2 separate regions of the Homo sapiens genome follow, and region 1 is linked to region 2. The links are contacts of gene promoters, found by promoter capture Hi-C in human tissues and cell types (Jung and others, 2019). All regions are on one chromosome and are shown on one strand. Each heading gives the region's core, a stretch centred on a gene start or on the middle of the fragment in contact. The rest is flanking DNA. Distances are from core to core; before and after follow the strand shown.

Region 1 (3,602 bases), core at 681-3,180, 330 kb before region 2:
GAGAGTGAAAAGATAAGCCACAGAATAGGAGAAGATATAAATAATACATATAACTGTCAAATAATTCATATCCAGAATCTAAAAAGGAATTCTACAAATCAGTAAGAAACAGGCAGAGTATCCAACAGGAAAAATGGGCAAAAGACTTGAATGGGCAATTCACAAAAAAGGGTATCAAAATGGCCAATGAAGATATGAAAACATGTCCAACTTCATTAGTCATCAGGGAAATGCAAATTTAAACTAAAACAAGACACCAACCACTACACACCCACTAGTTTGGCTAAAATTAAAAAGCTGACACACCAAAAGTTGTTGAGCATGTGAACCAACTGGAACTCTCAATCACTGCTTGCGGATGTGTAAATTGGTATAACCACTTTAGAAAGCTGTTTGTCACAGAGTCTACTAAAGCTGAACATATGGCTACTCTGACTCAGAATTCCACCCCAAGTATGCACCCAATAGTAATGTGCACATATGTTCACCAAAATATATCAAATGCCCAGAATTAAATCAAACAAAATAAGTACAATAATCCTTTTTTCTTCTTTTTAATTGAGATGGAGTCTCACTTTGTTGCTCAGGCTGGAATGCAGTGATGTAATCTTGGCTCACTATAACCTCCGCCTCCTGGGTTCAAGCGATCCTCCTGCCTCAGCCTCCCAAGTAGCTGAGACTACAGGCATGTGCCATCATGCCCGGCTAATTTTTGTATTTTTAATAGAGATGGGGTTTCACTATGTTGGCCAGGCTGGTCTTGAACTCCTGACCTCAAGTGATTCACCTGCGTCAGCCTCCCCAAGTGCTGGGATTACAAGTGTGAGTCACTGCGCCCAGCCAATATGTGCAATAATTCTACACAGAAAACTATAAAACATTTCTGAGAGAAATTAAAGAAGACCTAACTAAATGCAGGGATATACACAATTCATGGATTGGAAGACTTTAATATTAAGATGTCAGTTTTCCCTAAATTGATCTACAGATTCAGTAAAATCCCAATAAAAACCAGAGAAAGTATGTATGTATGTGTGTATAAACTGGCAATCTGTTTTAAAAATGTATATAGAAATGCAAAGAGACAAGAATAGCCAAGACAGTTTTGACGAACTAAGATGGAGAACCTATATGAGTAGTTATCAAGACTTATTATAAAGCTACAAAAATTAAGATGTTTTGGTGAAAAACAATGGAAAAGAAAAAGATAAAGTTTAGAAACAGAGCTCTCCCTCTCCCTCGCCCTCTCGCTCTCCGTCTCGCTCTCGCTCTCGCTCTCCGTCTCGCTCTCGCTCTCCGTCTCCCTCTTTCTACAGTCTCCCTCTCTTGCAGAGCCTGGGCAGTACTGCCGTGATCTCGGCTCGCTGCAACCTCCCTGCCTCGGGCTCCGGTGATTCTCCTGCCTCGGCCTGCCTAGTGCCTGGGATTCCAGGCACTCGCCGCCACTCCTGACTGGTTTTTGTATTTTTGGTGGAGACGGGGTTTCGCTGTGTTGACCGGGCTGGTGTCCAGCTCCTGGCCTCGGGTGATCTGCCCGCCTCGGCCTCCCAAGGTGCTGGGATTGCAGATGGAGTCTCGCTCACTCAACGCTCAATGTTGCCCAAGCTGGAGTGCAGTGGCGTGATCTTGGCTCGCTACAACCTCCACCTCCCAGCCACCTGCCTTGGCCTCCCAAAGTGCTAAGATTACAGCCTCTGCCCGCCCGCCACCCCGTCTAGGAAGTGAGCAGCGTCTCTGCCTGGCAGCCCATCGTCTGGGATGTGAGGAGCCCCTCTGCCCGGCCGCCCCGTCTGGGAGGTGAGGAGCGCCTCTGCCCGGCCGCCATCCCGTCTAGGAATTGAGGAGCATCTCTACCTGGCCACCCATCATCTGGGATGTGAGGAGCGCCTCTGCCTGGCCGCCCCGTCTGGGAAGTGAGGAGCGCCTCTTCCCGGCCGCCCCGTCTGGGAGGAAGTGAGGAGTACCTCAGCCCAGCTGCCCCGAATGGGAAGTGAGGAGCGCCTCTGCCTGGCCGCCCCCTCTGGGAAGTGAGGAGCGCCTCTGCCCTGCTGCCCTGTCTGGGAGGAAGTGAGGAGCGCCTCTGGCCGGCTGCCCCAAATGGGAACTGAGGAGCGCCTCTGCCTGGCCGCCCCCATCTGGGAAGTGAGGAGTGCCTCTGCCCAGCCGCCCCGTCTGGGAGGTGGGGGGCGCCTCTGCCCGGCCGCCCTGTCTGGGAAGTGAGGAGTGCCTCTGCCAAGCCGCCCCGTCTGGGAAGTGTACCCAACAGCTCCGAAGAGACAGCGACCATCGAGAATGGGCCATGATGACGATGGCAGTTTTGTCGAAAAGAAAAGGGGGAAATGTGGGGAAAAGAAAGAGAGATCAGATTGTTACTGTGTCTGTGTAGAAAGAAGTAGACATAGGAGACTCCATTTTGTTCTGTACTAAGAAAAACTCTTCTGCCTTGGGATGCTGTTAATCTATAACCTTACCCCCAACCCCGTGCTCTCTGAAACATGTGCTGTGTCAACTCAGGGTTAAATGGATTAAGGGCGGTGCAAGATGTGCTTTGTTAAACAGATGCTTGAAGGCAGCATGCTCGTTAAGAGTCATCACCACTCCCTAATCTCAAGTACCCGGGGACACAAACAGGGCCGAAGGCCGCAGGGACCTCTGCCTAGGAAAACCAGAGACCTTTGTTCTTGTGTTTATCTGCTGACCTTCTCTCCACTATTACCCTATGACTCTGCCACATCCCCCTCTCTGAGAAACACCCAAGAATGATCAATAAATACTAAAAAAAAAAAAAAAAAAAAAAAAAAGAAAAATTAAAGCATAAAATGCTTATTAAATAAACAATCAATACGTGATGTGAAAAAAAAAGTTTAGAAACAGAACCAAATATATAAAGTCATTTGCTTTATGACAAAAGTAATATGGCGGCACAGTGTGGGAAAAGATGGACTTTTCAATAAATGATGTTGGGTCAATTAGATATCCATGTAAAAAAAGAAAAGAAGAAAAGGAATCTTGATCATTACCTCACATCCTATACAAAATGTATTTCAGGTTAATTATAGATCTAAATGTGAAAGGTAAAACAATAGAGTTTCTAAAACACAAGATAGGAAAATATCTTCATAGCCTTTGAGTGGGTTCTATTAAAGAATTTCTGTTCATTAAAACACACCAGTTAAAGGACTTCCAGGTAGCTGAAGATGAAGGAGGCTGTGTATAAATTAACTTTCCCAAGTCTCCGCAAACTATACTAGCTAGCTTTGTAGCTACAAACATTCTATACAAAATGATACCACATCTATAATGGAAGACAGAGAACATCAAAACTTTACAGATGACTGAATAAGAAGAGAAAAATTAACACATTTCACTTCTGCGTTTGCCTCACCCATGCCCTGATGCAAGGTTTTGTGGTAAAGGCAGAATGAGAAAACTGTGGCAAAGACAGAAGATGGTGTTTATTTAAGAGTGAACTAGAATAACTACCAGAAAGACGAATCTTCCCTGGTATGGTTTGCATTTGTGTTCCTGCCCAAATCCCATGTCAAATTGCAATCCCCAGTGTTGGAGGAGGAGCGGCCTGCTGGGAGGTGACTGGATCATGG
Region 2 (3,359 bases), core at 342-2,841:
TGAGGAAGCCAGTCAGCATTAACATGGTGTGATGGATGCTACCACAGAGGCCTTTCTGCTGCGGAGGGACCAGAGAACAGGGAGATATCATGGCAGGCTTCACAGAAGCCAGATCTCTAGATGCCATCCTTGCTGTCTCTCTTAACCCCTCCCCAAGGGCCAGTCGTCAACTCCTGCTGATCTACTCCCTGAATATATCACAAATTCATCTGGGTGCCCTCCCTCCGCTGTCTCCATTCTGGTCTAGGCCACCATCACCTCTCACTCAGACTGCAGCAAACTCTACCTAACCAGCCTTTTTGACTCTAGCTTACCCTAGAGTATCTAATCTATTCTCACACTTCAAGGAAAGTAATTTTTCCAAAACGTAACTCTCATCCTGTCACTCATTCTGCCTAGAACCTTCCATGACTCCCTAGCACCTTCCATGACTCCCTAGCACCCTAGGATAGCTAGCGTTTCTCAGCTCCCACACTCCCCCAACTCCCTGGCATCTGCCTTCTCTCCAGGGAGGACTAGTACATCATTCTACTCATACATTCTACGCATACCTCATTCTACCAGTCCTACCAGCTCGTGCACCCAAGCCTTTGCATGGGCCTCCCATCATGCCTTCCCACAGCCCACTTGTAATGTCCTGGCTAATTCTCAGGTATCCGCAGGTCTCCACGTGGATATAAACATCTTTTCTACCAGAAACCTTCCCCCACGTCTCCAAAATGGGTCACCTGCCCCACAGCTACTCAAACCTTTCCGGTCAAGCTCGTTCCTTTGCCTGGCCTGCCCACCAATGCCCTGGGTGGGGACTCTGCCTGGGTCTCGCAGCACCCTCAACGCCAAGCCAGGAAGGGAAGGCAGGTTCTGAGGAAACTCTTACTGCAATAAGAAATGAATTAAATCTCTAAGGTTCTAAGTCTCTACAATTCTATTCGCTGTCTCCAGATTCTATTCTGAAAGGCCAAAATTTCTAAGAATCTGATTTTATGTTAATTCAAAAGTGTTTCCACGTCTATGCTCAAAGTTTACAAAAGACTACTCAAAGTTTACCATTCCAACTCTAAGGAGTCCTTAACTCTTCACCTCCCGGGGCATCCGGCCGCCGGGGACCGCGTCTCGGGCCAGCGCCGGGCACCACTCTGGTCCCGGGCCCCCGGGCCCCGCCGCCTCACCTGGCCGCCTGCATGAGCGCGCTCCAGCCGTAGTGGTTGCGGCTGTTGACCGAGGCACCGCGGCGCAGCAGGAAGCGCACCAGCGGTTCGTGGCCCCCGGCCGCGGCGAACTGCAGTGCGGTGTTGCCCGCCTCGTCCGAGCAATCCACGGGCACCGGAGCCCCGACTGCCCCCGCCGCTGCGGCCCCGGGCCCGGCCACCTCGGCCCCCGCCGGCTCCGCGCCCGCCTCCGGCTCCGCGCCGCGCTCGGCTGGCTCCGCCGCCCCCGGCTCCAGCAGCCGCCGCGCCGTCTCCGTGTCGCCCTGGTCACACGCGCGCAGCAGCAGCTGGAAGGCCGGGGGCAGCCCGCCCTCGCCCATCGCCGCCGCCACGCGCGGCCCGCTCCCGTCCGCCCCGCCGGCCGCGTCGGCTCCGCCCCCGGATACCGCCCGCAGGCGCCCCCTTCCGGCCACCCGCCCGCGCCGCGCGCCTACTGTGTGCCGGGAGCGCGCCGGGGCTAGGGCCGCGCGCCTGCTGTGTGCCGGGAGCGCGCTAGGGCCGGGGCTGCGCACCTCCAGTGCCCGTATTCGGGAGTCCAGGGACGCTCAGAGGAGCGCCCGCCGCAGACCCGCGTGTTCCCTTTTGCCTCTTCGGCGCCCTCTCGCCGCCCTGTCCCGGGGCTCCAGAAACTTCCTGTCAGGGCAGAGGTGGGAGCGGCCACGCCATCCCCTCTTCACGCTGTGGTCAGGGCCCTGGGCCCGGGTCTGAGTCCGCAGCTGCGTGGGCCTTGACTTTACTAGCGGGCTCCGCTGACCCCACCGCAGCCCCTGGCACTGAACCTGCCCTTCTAGAATAAGGAAGCGGCTGAATTAAGGAACGAACGGATTGTTTCCTCACAGTGTCCTGCGGTGCCCTTAATGTCGCTCCTTCATCTGGGCCAGGCTGCTGGGGCTAAAAGCGCCTCCTGTTCTCTCTCTCTCCCCCACCTTTTATTTCAACTATTATTATAGATTAAAGGGTACAGGTTTGTTACATGGGTAAATTGTTACATGGGTAAATTGCGCGACGCTGAAGCTTGTGGTCCCAACGATCCCGTCACCCAGGCAGTAAGCATAATACCCACCAAGAGGTTCTTCAGCCCAGAGTCCCCTCCATCCCTCCCTGGCCTAGCGATCCCCAGCGTTTGTTGTTCCCATCTTTGTGTCCATGTGTACTCAATGTTTAGCTCCCACTTATAAGTGAGAACATGCAGTATTTGGTTTTCTGTTCTTTTTAGGTCGCTTAGGATAATGGCCTCCAGCTTTATCCATGTTGCTGCAAAGGGCATGATTTCGTTCATTCTTATGGCTGCATAGTATTCCGTAGTATTCCATCATATTCTATCGTGTATATGCACCACATTTCTTTCATTCCTTCCCTCTCTTCCCTCCCTCCCTCCCTATCCCCCTTCCTTCCTCCCTCCCTCCCTCCCTTTCTCCCTCTCTCTCTCTCTCTCTCTCTCTCTTTTGACAGGGTCTTGCTCTGTCATCCAGGCTGGAGTGCAATGGTGCAATCTCTACTCACCACAACCTCTGCCTCCCAGGCTCAAGCAATCCTCCCACCTCAGCCTACCGAGTAGCTAGGACTGCAGGCAAGTGCCACCACACCCGGCTAATTTTTTGTATTTTTGGTTGAGAAAGGGTTTTACCATGTTGTCCGGCTGGTCTCAAAGTCCTGAGCTCAAGTGATTCACCTGCTGTGGCCTCCCAAAGTGCCAGGATTACAGGTGTGAGCCATCACATCTGGCTCTGTACCACATGTTCTTTATCCAATCTACTGTTGATGGGCACTTAGGTTGATTCCATACCCTTGCTATTGTAAATGGCACTGCAATGAATATACAGGTGTCTTTTTGATAGAATGAATTATTTTCCTTTGGGTATATACCTGGTAGTAGGTTTGCTGGGTCAAATAGTTCTATTTTAAGTTCTTTGAGAAATCTCCAAACTGCTTTCCACGGTGGCTGAACTAGTTTGCATTCCCACCAACAGTGTATTTTCTCCACAGCCTTAGCAGCACCTATTGTTTTTTGACTTTTTAATAATTGACATTCTGACTGGTGTAGATGATATCTCATTGTGGTTTTGATTTGCATTTCTCTGATGATTAATGATGTTGCGCATTTGTTTCATATGTTTGTTGGCTGCCTGTATGTCTTCTTTTGAGAAGTGT

What was found. Contacts are between HindIII fragments. The study calls those that stand out against the background at their distance.
Region 1: a contact is called between a fragment that was not itself captured here and the fragment with the promoter of ANKS6 in region 2, in 2 of the 25 tissues and cell types used here (IMR-90 fibroblasts and aorta).

Annotation. Positions count from the first base shown.
Region 1 is chr9:98,462,347-98,465,948 of GRCh38, forward strand. All of the region lies in intron 6 of GABBR2 (gamma-aminobutyric acid type B receptor subunit 2), which reads right to left. Among named protein-coding and RNA genes, the nearest start is that of TBC1D2, 210 kb to the left of the region's middle. The HindIII fragment of the contact is 5,351 bases long and covers 1-3,602 here.
Region 2 is chr9:98,794,964-98,798,322 of GRCh38, forward strand. ANKS6 (ankyrin repeat and sterile alpha motif domain containing 6) reads right to left here and starts at 1,592. Exons shown (of 15, transcript NM_173551.5): 1 at 1,170-1,592. The coding sequence starts at 1,528. RefSeq lists enhancers at 855-1,355, 1,356-1,856 and a silencer at 1,115-1,734. The HindIII fragment of the contact is 18,100 bases long and covers 1-3,359 here.